2 separate regions of the Homo sapiens genome follow, and region 1 is linked to region 2. Evidence: promoter capture Hi-C in 16 types of primary human blood cells and fetal thymus (Javierre and others, 2016). All regions are on one chromosome and are shown on one strand. Each heading gives the region's core, a stretch centred on a gene start or on the middle of the fragment in contact. The rest is flanking DNA. Distances are from core to core; before and after follow the strand shown.

The links. The method cuts DNA at HindIII sites, captures the fragments that hold promoters and counts their contacts. A CHiCAGO score of 5 or more calls a contact.
Region 1: a contact is called between the fragment with the promoter of TRAPPC8 here and the fragment with the promoter of TAF4B in region 2, in 1 of 17 cell types (naive CD8 T cells). The highest score is 5.1, in naive CD8 T cells.

What each region holds. Positions count from the first base shown.
Region 1 is chr18:31,940,641-31,946,739 of GRCh38, forward strand. TRAPPC8 (trafficking protein particle complex subunit 8) reads right to left here and starts at 2,488. Exons shown (of 29, transcript NM_014939.5): 1 at 1,968-2,488. The coding sequence starts at 2,124. RefSeq lists enhancers at 1,383-2,161, 2,263-2,472, 5,620-6,099 and a silencer at 2,093-2,212. The HindIII fragment of the contact is 12,839 bases long and covers 1,195-6,099 here.
Region 2 is chr18:26,225,070-26,230,821 of GRCh38, forward strand. It overlaps TAF4B (TATA-box binding protein associated factor 4b), which reads left to right and starts at 1,376. Exons shown (of 15, transcript NM_005640.3): 1 at 1,376-2,207. The coding sequence starts at 1,865. RefSeq lists enhancers at 1,006-1,075, 1,106-1,205 and a silencer at 1,856-2,015. The HindIII fragment of the contact is 8,704 bases long and covers 1-5,752 here.

The DNA of each region.
Region 1 (6,099 bases), core at 1,238-3,737, 5.7 Mb after region 2:
GGCGCCCACCACCACGCCCAGCTAATTTTTGTATTTTTAGTAGAAACGGGGTTTCACCATGTTGGCCAGGATGGTCTCGAACTCCTGACCTCGTGATCCACCCGCCTCGGCCTCCCAAAGAGCTGGGATTACAAGCGTGAGCCACCGCGCCCGGCCGAAAATTTTTTAATTATACCTGTGACTCACATTATATTTCAATTAGACAGCACTGCTCTATGGTGTAAATACATAATTCTAAATACTGTCAGGAGATAAGATGATTAAGAACACAATGTCTTGAGTCACACTGCCTGTTTCAAATCTTTCCCAGACGCAAAACTGTGAACAAATTAACACTTCTATGCTTCAAGGTCCTCAAATTTAAAATTGCAATAACAGGATTCAATGAGGACTAAAAAAGAAAAGTTACACAAAGCAAGTATCAGGTATTAGCATTATTATTATTTATTAAGAAAGAAGGAAAGAGTACACATATAAAAGTAAAACTAGCTCAAGTGTTTGTGTTTTTTTAGGAATTCAAGGCCGGGCGCGGTGGCTCACGCCCATAATCCCCGCACTTTGCGAGGCCGAGGCGGGCAGATCACCTGAGGTCGGGAGTTCGAGACCAACCTGACCAACATGGAGAAACCCTGTCTCTACTAAAAATACAAAAATTATCCGAGTATGGTGGCGCATGCCTGTAATCTCAGTTACTCAGAAGGCTGAGGCAGGAGAATCGCTTGAACCTGGGAGGCGGAGGTGGCGGTGGGCTGAGATCGCGCCACTGCACTCCAGTCTGGGCAACAAGAGCGAAACTCCATCTCAAAATAAATAAATAAATAAATAACAAAAAAATAAAAAACGTAGGGCATTTTGTTGCTCTTAAGTCCAACACTGAAGGAACTGAGACTGATGGCTACGATACAGGCTAAAGAAAATCCAAAAGTTTCCAAACTTTGTTTTTTTGGACAGCTCCCTCTCTCCGCTAAAAACAAAAGCTAATTTATAATGGAACTATTCTCCCAAAAAACATGGTAGCGCAAAAATGGTACAGCACTGATTTTTTTTGTGGATAAGTCATATTAAGCTAACAAACATCACAGTCGTTTGCCTGACACAGGCTTATTATGAAACCCTTCAGTTCTTACCGACCTTAACAAAAAAAACTTTACTTGGACTTTGTTGTTTGCAAGATATTGGCTAAAACATGCTTGAAGCTTTACCACATTATTTTCTCCTAATAAAAAAATCCAAAACTGGAGAAAACGGGTAGCTTCTTAACAAGACATTCATTAACAAGAGAAGACATTTCCATCCCTATAACTATAGATAACTCCAAATATCCAGGTTAAATTAACCACAACTTGGGCTTGCTTCCTCTTCCTTAGGGCAAAAAGCTGCTTCAAGTTTTATTCTTCTTATAATACTTTTAATTTTCTTGAGAGGTTAAGCAAAATACCGTATAGCTAAGAATATATTAGTAAAACAGCTACACGGTAGTTCAGACAGAGATGACCCTCAACGCTACAAGAATGTAATAACATCCACAACTACTTTCAAAGTCCAGTTTAACATCCAAGGGAGGATGACAGGTCTTCCTTACTCAGACCCTGTCGGTCTAAGAGGCAGCATTTTCCTACCTTAGCTGCTTTGCAAGTGCCTAATTCCTTCGCTATGGCCGTGGAGAACAGTCTCAATGCCGTTCTCGAAGACTCACGTTTATCTTTGCACCAATTACTTAACGACCTAGGTTGTCCGAGGAAGAAAGGAAGTGCCCAGAGAAACTGGAGCTTAGGACTGCGCTGTCTTGACAACCTCACGGTCCCTCCTCCAGCCGCCCCCGGAGCACCGCGGGGCCACAGCCCCAGACGCCACGGTACCGGCTCCAGGACGTAAACACTGCCCTTCTCTTCCCTGCCCGCCCGCAACTTCCTTCTCCCGACCACGGCTTTGCGGGAGCCCACTGGAAAAGGGAGGATACCACATACCCTCGGAAGTGAGGCGGGAGAAGGGCTTAAGCAGCTCCGCGAAGCTGAGGTGATTGAGACGAGTGAGCCGCTCGGCTTCGTCGCTGCACAGCGCAGCGACACAGGGGACGAAGGAGTCCGGGATTAGCTCCTGCACTGATTGTACACACTGGGCCATCGCCGCAGCACAGGCAGCGGCGGCGCCCGCCCTCCGGCCCACCCTGCGAGGTTATCCTGCGGCTGCAGCAGCTACCGCCGCCGCCCGCCGGCCTGGCCCGGCCGGGCGGGGCCCCGAACGCACTGGAGCCTAGAAACAAGAAGGAACAGACGCCGCCGCTTCGGTTTCTGGGGCACAATCCACTGACCCCCCCCTTCCCGTCACCGCCGCTTCTCAGCGCTCGTCCCCGCGTGCTCGCATTCCACCCCGATAGGTGGAGACGCCGACAGTCACCACTTAGTCCTTCGGACGGCAAAACCTTGGTCACTGCCCGGCCGGAACCGCCATGTTGAGGCCGAACCCTGACCAACCGGCAGTACTACTCCCAGCTGCCCCCGCGCGCGTCCCTCACGTGACTGTGTTAAAGGAGACGGTAGGGGCAAGGGAAGAGAGCTGAGGAGAGGGAAGTGAAAAACGACGGAGGCCGGTTGGGAGGCTGGAGCCGGAAGTGTTGTGACGGAAGCTCCCTGGGCGGGGCGGGGCTACAAGTGCGGTGGGCGGGGGCGGGGGCGGGGGCGGGGGCGGGGGGAGGTGCACAACTGTAGGCCGGGTTCTCAAGCTCGCCCTTAGCAGAGCAGAGCTGAGAGCCACCTACTAGCGGCAGGTGGAGCCTCGAGACGGGTGCTGTCGTGGTGATGGAGGCGCACGCTCGCTTCCCACGCAGTTTGGCCTTTTTGACGTCCCTGGCTGTTGTGGGCAACCGATTTGGTTGGTCGCGCTGCTTCCTACGCTCGCCGGCGGAGCAGCTAGTGGCACCTGCTCGGAGAGAGGGAGTGGATCTCTCGGAAGTGCTTGGGGTTTCGCTGAAGCGGACCTGAACAGACCATGTGTCCTTTAAATACAGCCATGCTTTTAGAAACGGACTGTCACTTTATGTGGACTCAACCATTGAACAGAATGTGTGCTTTTGTGAGTGCTGCAATTCCTTCAAGTGTAATTGCGCTACTGCATTTTTGTTGGTCGCAGGGAAGGGGTGTGCCTGCAAATGTCCGCGTGGTTCGTCCTCAGCCTCTTCCTTTTTACACTGTGCTAGGATGTTTACTTGCTTGTGGTGGAGGTAGGGGAAGCCAGTATTTGTGTACTGTGTACTGTCCTGAACCGGCTTTCATTCCTAACTTTTCAAAGATTGCTTTAAAGGGGGGGGGGCGCGGGTCAAATATTGTTTTAAAGGGGGGGACGGGGTGAGGTCAATGGTGTGTGCCTTGTAAGTAGAAATGAATGAAAGGAATTTTACTAATGTGTCACTCAATTGTTTGAGCTCCTTCTGTTTTGCATGCCAAAAATATAAGGCAAGGAAAAATGTATCATTCTATCATGATTTTATGGTGCTCTAATTAAAGGTGTCTTCCCCAACGTCAATGTCTCAAATTTTTCGACTTCTTGACACCCTCAGGTTTTCACTAAGGTAATAATTTATGACAAGTAAGATGTGTGCTTCTCATGTAAGTTGATAAATGGGAGGTAGGAAGGCACAGTAGGACATATTGATGACATGCCTTGGCTACAGATTAATTTATAAGAGAGTCCATCACTTTAGGAGATTTATTTGCCGAAGTTAAGTACGAGCCCAGGAAACAGGTCTATGCCTTTCTTCGAAGATGATTTTGAGTGCTCCAAATTTAAAGGGGAAAGGGCGGGATATTGAGAAGCACACCGTTTTCATGTAAGGGGGCGGTAGGAGAAAATAGTAATTCTTGCCTTTCTCTGGCTCAGTGAATCTGCATTTTTTACATAAGATGACATAAAATGGGCAGAGGAAGAATGTGGGAGTCTGCATTTTTCATAAGATAACAGACAAAATGGGGTAGGGGAACAATCAGATAGGCATTTGTGTCTGGCGGGCTGGGGTGGCCACCTGTAAAGATAAGCTATCAATTTGCATTGCCATGAAGTTTTAACAGCACACTAAGAATTTCCTTGTGGGCAAAATACGGGGGAGAGATGTAGCTTTTCATCTTGCAGCAATCTTATTTAGGAACCAAAAGGGGGAGGCAGATTTGCGTGACCAGTCCCAGCGTGACTTTTCCCTTTGGCTAAATCAGTTTGGGGTCCCAAAATTTAATTTCCTTTTGCAAGAGATAACATGTTACACACAATCCCTTTTCAATGCTTCTGATTCACTTCCTTACCCTTTATAATGTGAGAATCTCACATAATTTAGTGTGACTCAAGTTATAAGATACATTTTTTATAACAGGACTCCCAAATGCAAACATACTATTTATCTAGTACTCTAAAAAGTTTCAAAGGCCATTTATTTTTATGCTGAAAGTAAAAACAGCTGAATTAGACTCTTTGAAAAGGACTTTCAATGGTAATTTAGCCAAAATAGATTTTTCTGAGATATAATTCACATGCCATAATATTTACCCCTTCAGATGAGTGTACAATTCATTGGTTTTCAGTTTATTCCAAAAGTTGTGCAACCATTACTACTATCTAATTCCAGAACATGTTCATCCCAAAAAGAAGGCTTGTACAGGCTTTTATCATTCTGCACCCTGCCATGCCCTCCAACTCCTGGCAATCACTAATCTACTTTCTGTCTGTGTAGATTTACCTATTCTGGACATTTCATATAAGTGAAATTATACAATATGTGGCCTTTGTACACATATTACTTCACTCATCAATATATTTTAAAGGTTCATCCATGTTGTAACATGAATCATTACTTCATTCCTTTTTATGGCTGAGCCTAAATGGATTTTTGTCTTATGCATTGACTTTGCAGTTGTTGTTTTTTTTTTAATATATAGAGATGAGGGCTCACTGTATTGCCCAGGCTGGCCTCAAACTCTGGGCTCTGGTGATCCTTCTGCCTCAGCCTCCCAAAATGCTGGGATTGCAGGTGTGAGCCACCACACCCAGCCTGACTTCACAATCTAATACCACACCCATACACAGTGTTTCCAGTGAGTAACTTCACTGTGTAAATCTAATTCTTTCGTAGTCTATCCTGGTCTCTTCTTTCTTTTGACAAGGTACTGTTTGAACTGTGGAAACACCTTAAAGGAGATGATACTGAGGACTTAACTCTGACATTTTTCCCCTCCTCCCCGAATTCCTATCTAAGGGGCCTGTGGAGTCACACCCTACAAAACATAAAATGTTATCAAATGGGCCGGGCGCGGTGGCTCACGCCTGTAATCCCAGCACTTTGGGAGGCTGAGGTGGGTGGATCACGAGGTCAGGAGTTCGAGACCAGTCTGGCCAACATAGTGAAACCCCGTCTACCAAAAATACACAAAAAATTAGCTGGGCGTGGTGGTGTGTGCCTGTAATCCCAGCTCCTCAGGAGGCTGAGGCAGGAGAATCACATGAACCCAGGAGGTGGAGGTTGCAGTGAGCCAATATCGTGCCACTGCACTCCAGCCTGGGCAACAGAACGAGACTCCGTCTCAAAAAAAAGAAAAGTTATCAGATGGGTTTTATGTAAACTTATATAATATGGCTTACTTTCCAACTTGACTCTGGCATAACATCACATGACAGATAAAGGAAATCAAAGTATTTTACCTCAAAATATATTTCTTTGCCGTATTTTGAAATGCCCCTGCAAAGCTATTTTGTGGGGAGAGAGGTAATTGCATCTGTTAAGAATCTCTGTTGGCTGGGTGCAGTGGCTCACACCTGCAATCCCAGCACTTTGGGAGGCCGAGGCATGTGGATCACCTGAGGTCAGCCCGGCCAACATGGTGAAGCCCCGTCTCTACTAAAAATTTAGCCGGCCGTAGTGGTGGGCTCCTGTAATCCCAGCTACTCTGGAGGGTGAGGCGGGAGAATCACCTGAACCCAGGAGGCAGAGATTGCAGTGAGCCAAGATCGCACCATTGCACTCCAGCCTGGGCAAGAAGAGCAAAAAACTCCATCTAAAAAAAAAAAAAAAAAAAAAAAAAAAGAATCTCTATCAACATAATTAGATGTTTCCCCCTT
Region 2 (5,752 bases), core at 126-2,625:
TTCTTTTTTTAAAAAAATTATTTATTTAATGTATTTAACTAACAAATAATAATTGTATGTATTTATGAGGTATCATGTTACATTTGTATGTGTCGTGAAATAATTAAATCAAGTTAACATATTCATCACTTTAACATGATTTGTCCTGAATGGAATCCCATTCATGAGGGCTCCACCCTTATGATCTAATCACCTTTCAAAGGCCCAACCTTCTAATATTATCAACTCCAGCTTTAGCATTTTAACACTCAGTTGGGGGTATAATCCTAGCACTTTGGGAGGCCCAGGCGGGAGCTCAGGAATTGGAGACCAGCCTGGACAATATAACGAGATCCCGTTTTTGCTAGGCATAGTGCCGCTCCCCTGTGGTTCCAGCTACTCGGGAATCTGAGGTAGGAGGGTAGGATGATCACTTGAGCCCAGGAGGTGGAGGCTGCAATGAGCCAATGGTGCCACTGCACTCCAGCCTGGGTGACAGAGTTAGATCCTGTTTCCAAAACAAAACAAAACAAAACAAAACAAAACAAAACACCACAACATTCAGATCATAGCATCTGCCTACTTGTAAAATCGCCTTTCAGTGCAGTGTTGGTTCCTACAAACATACAATATAATGACTTTAGCTTGAAATTAAGGCATCTTCTCTGACTGCATTACAAACAGGCAAGTTTTTTCATATCGATTCACTCAACACCTTTTATTTATCCAGATAATATCTAGGATCACGCTTAATATCTAAGTGCTAGAATCTAATTATATAGATATCAAAAGGCATTAAGTTTTTCAGAAGACAGACATACAATTTTAATGTTTAGAGGTGATAGAGACACCTATAGCAGCACCAAAGAAGAAACGATTTTCCATTTAAGATTTTAGGCAGTTTAACTCTAAAATATGAAAATAGGCACATCTCACAGACTATAAAACTATACGCCATTTTAATTTTTACAATGTCAATTCTAACTGCGAATTTTAGCAACGCTTCAGTGTGAAGACAGCAGAGAAAAACACTGAAAATGCGTGATTGAATTCTTATTGAGTCACTCTTCTCGGAAATCAGTCCTCCCCATTTTCTCCTTAAAAAATAGAATCCTGGAGATAGTCTAGTGCTGGCTTTTCGAGGAACACACTACAGGGGACACAAGGAGAGGAACACGGATGCCGCAGTTTTCCAAGTGCAGCTTGCCCCTCCCACGTGATAGGTTTCTGGCATCGCCCCTCCTTGCTGGCGATTCTGGGGAAGATTTTAACGCTCCCTGGAGCCGTCCCCAGTGACGTCACGGGCGCGGCTCCGCTCCTTGGCCAATCACGCGGCCGGATCCCGGGGAAACCCGGGGCGGTGGCGGCGGCCTGGGCGCGTGCGCGAGGTCTCCGCGTGGCTATATAAACATGGCTGGCGTGGCCGCGCGGCGGGGCCGTGCCAATCGCGCGTAGGGGGCTGTGGGCACTCGGGGTTCGTAGTTTTGAAATTTCTGGCGGGGGAGCAGCTGCGCAGTTAGGCTCGAGGTGTGAGCGACGACCTTCCGGGAGCCGCAAGTCCAGGCTCCCCCGCAGCGGGACCCGAGCCTGAGGCGCAGGGCTGAGGCAGCGCACGTGTGAGCGCCGCTGAGGAAGCTGCGAGAGGTCGGGCGGGTGTCGCTCCGGGGGCAGCCCAGGCTCGCGCGGACGAGAGGAAGGTCCGGGACGCGCGTGTCCTGCCGTGCAGCGGGCGCCCGTCACTGACTTCGCTGCTGCGGCCCCCGCGCCTCTCCCCAGCGATGCTGTGGAACCCGAACCGCACCGGAGTCGGCTGCCGCGCGCCAAGCCTCCCCTCACCTCTGCTCCCGGAACCGCAGCGCCAAAGCTGCCGCTGAGCCCCTGGGGGATGCCCGCCGGCCTCACCGAACCCGCCGGCGCCGCTCCCCCGGCTGCTGTGAGCGCCTCGGGGACCGTGACCATGGCCCCGGCCGGGGCGCTGCCGGTGCGGGTGGAGAGCACTCCGGTGGCCCTGGGCGCCGTGACTAAGGCTCCTGTCAGCGTCTGCGTGGAGCCCACGGCGTCCCAGCCCCTGCGGTCCCCCGTGGGGACCCTGGTGACCAAAGTGGCTCCGGTCAGCGCCCCTCCTAAAGTCAGCAGCGGCCCTAGGCTGCCTGCTCCTCAGATAGTCGCCGTGAAAGCCCCCAACACCACGACAATCCAGTTTCCTGCTAATTTGCAGCTTCCTCCAGGTATGTTGATAACCCTTTCCAGCCTTGTCTGTCGGTCCAGCTGGCGGCGACGGGAAAATTCGCAGCTCCAGATTGCTCCTAAAAAAACTGAGCCACGGGAACATTTCATAATCTTGACTTTACAGTTAACATATTCTTTTTGTGTCATTACTACATAGTTTTTCTTTTCATATTTAAGGAAAGAATCTTTTCACCTAAGTGATACAGTAAAAAGCTACATCAGCGTATTCGGGGGGGCTTTCAGGCACTGGCTCTTAGGTGGAGGAGATAATATAGCCGAAGTTAATTTCCATGTGGAGGATGGACCGGTTTATACCGTGGATTTCCATACGCTTAGATTATGTAGAAGTGCGTTGTACTTATTTTATTAATTATGAATGAATGAATGAACGAATGAGGTATGGTTTCGCTCTGTCGCCCAGTCTGGAGTGCAGTGACACGATCATGGCTCACCGACGTCGAACTCCTGGGCCCAATCGATCCTCCCGCCTCGGCCTCCCAAAGTGCTGGGATTACAGGCGTGAGCCACCGCGTACGGCCTAACAGTGAAGTTCTTGTGTATTACAACTGAAAGAGATTTTTAAATTTAACCAAGTCAGAATCGGTTTACTGCTTTCTAGTACCAAGTACGAATAATGCTGTTCCTGCACAATCTTTAAATGTCTTATGATTCTAACTTTCAATTAGCAGAACCCCTGACTGGGAACACGTGCCACAGTTGACAAACAGATCAGTCATGCAATTGTTACAGTTGCAATTGAAGCCATGTGTCAACGCTACTGTTAATGAGTCTTTCACTACTTTCTATCCTAGGGCTTTTTACTCTATTGGGCTGTATTTCATGGTTTGTATAAAGGTTTTGCTTTGTGATAATTTACATATTGTAAATATGCTGAATGATTTTGGGGTGTTCAGCCTTTCTTTACTGAAAGTCTCTTGGAGTTTGCTTTCTGTTAATTTTGTTTAGCAGTAATTGGAACTCTGAACTGCAAAGATGGTAAAAAAGGGGAAGCATTGATTCAAAAGATTCTATATCCCCTAATAAAATGACAGGGACCCTTTTTGTATCTAATGTTGTAGTTAGTCATACACGTTGTGGATAGATTTCACTTTTTATGAAGTTCTGTTTCAGTTTTATATGGTATACAAGGTATGTAAAATTGTTAAGGCACTGTTACGGCAGTGTGCAGCACCGAATACATTATTTGGCAGTTCTAAATTGTTATTCTGAGTTGTTATTCTGCATATATGTTTATAAAGTAGTTCTGAATGTGTTAGAATGAAATTACCCCCTAATTTGTTAAACTGTAAATCCTGTCTAGTCACTGAAGTTTGTTTATAAATAGTCAAAAAAAAAAAGTATTAAGAAAGAACTGTCTGAGAGGCTAAGGCACGAGAATCGCTTGAACCCGGGAGGTGGAGGTTGCAGTAAGCCAAGATATCTTGCCACTGCACTCCAGCCCAGGCAACAGAGTGAGACTCTGTTCCTCCCCATCCCTCCCCAACCCCCCAAAGAAAGAACTGTCAAGAGTGAAAATTTGCTGGTAAGTGAGAGTGAATCACTTACTGGAGGATTGGGGCCTTATCATGCTAAGCACTTTTAACAAATTATTTATATTCTTTTATTTGTTGGTCATAATAGGTAGGTAGCAAATAAGGAAAGAGGTCTCTAAGAGTAAATAATTTGTCCAATGCCAGGCAACCCATAGGTGTCGGGGGAGTTTTAGCTCAGGTCTGTTTATTCTTTCCACAACGCTATGCTTATTTTTTTACTTGTATGTGTACGGTATGCCTCATTGAGTGTCAGTACTGAAAGGTGATTCAGAGAACTTTAGATTCCAGTCTTTTATTTTATATACCAAGGAACCAAAACTGAAACTTGGCAGAGTTAAAATAATAGCATACTAGGACCATAGTCTAATTATGTTCCTAGCACTGTATTAAAACATTGCATGCTATTTACCTCTGAGAAACCCATACAAAAGAGAGAAAGAAGATAAGTTGTCTTTAGGAATTGGTCGTTATAGAGGAAGTGGGGATTTGCTTTTGGGAATTTTCTGCTGACGTGTGGCAGAAGGGTGTACTAACTACATTTGTGCTCTTATTGGATAGAATAAGATAACCAATAGTTGAAGAATAAAATGGAAACACTGATTAAAGTAACTTTTTAAAAAGGTTATGAATCTTATACTATTTCTTTTATATCTTTCTTTCTTTCTTTTTTTTTTTTTTTTTTCTTTCTCTGAGACGGAGTGTCACTCTGTTGCCCAGGCTGGGGTGCAGTGGCATAATCTCGGCTCACTGCAACCTCCGCCTCCCGGGTTCAAGCAATTCTCCCGTCTCAGCCTCCCGAGTAGCTGGGATTACAGGCACACGCCACCATGCTCGGCTAAATTTTGTATTTTTAGTAGAGATGGGGTTTCACCATGTTGGCCAGGCTGGTCTCGAACTCCTGACCTCAAGTGATCAGCCTGCTTCGGTCTCTCAGAGTGCTGGGATTACAGGCGTTAGCCACTGCGCTGGCCTGAATCTTGTACTATTTCCTTTGCATACCAAGAATTAGCACTTGATTACACAAGGGTGCTTATATATGTCAGTTCTTCATTTTTCAAGATAATGAATACTTTAAGTATTTGATTCTCTTTACTTCAGAGTTTCATCTATGAACAGAACTGGTTTAAAAAAAAAATATATATATATATACACACACACACACACATATACATATATATGCACCACAGGTTTTTCTAGGGAGCAGGAGCTTGAAATAAAAAGAATGCACAAGAGAATATTTGAGGAAATATTAATAAAAGGTTTTCAGTAATTTCTTCAGTCTTTTGTGAACATGTGGGGTTTTAGGCTGAACTGTGGTTCTTCTTGATATTCTTCATCTTGTCTATCACCTGTTTGAGAATGATAAGCAAGGACTTGATTCCTTCTTTTAGGTCATAAACTGGGATAAATTCTGCATGACAGTCATACTGTACAAAAGTGTGAAAGTTACTTATGAAGCAGTGAGGTCCCTTTTCATCAGCCTGTTTTCATGCTGAGACAGGGCATAGAATTTGCATCTCCTTTCCCAACTTCTTGATCCAGTCCTTGGATAAGTTCTTTGTTTCCACTCTGGCTTTATCAAAGGGATACAGTGTACATGATCATCACTTCCACAGTTGTCACAGTGCTGCTGGGCTTTGTGAAATGAGGGGTATTCTTTTCAGTGTTCACCATACACCATCCACTGTTTGATTTTCAGACTGTAGAGTTGGCGTAAAGTGATAGTGGCCATGGCATTACTCTGTCGGTAGTCAGCCCACAGGAGAAAGTGCTGGTGCTCCTCTCCTGCGGATCTTCCTCAAGGTGAGGTTAGGTTCTCCTGTTACGTGTTTCCATTTGGATGCCGTGCTTTCACTCTCATAGTACTCCCACACTTTGTTTTCTTTTTGATTACAAGGTCCTTTTTGATTACAAGTCCCTGCTTCTGTAATCAGGGACTCTATGTCGCTATTATCTATCCTCAGGGCCTAGTGAGTTGTGCACGAAGGCGC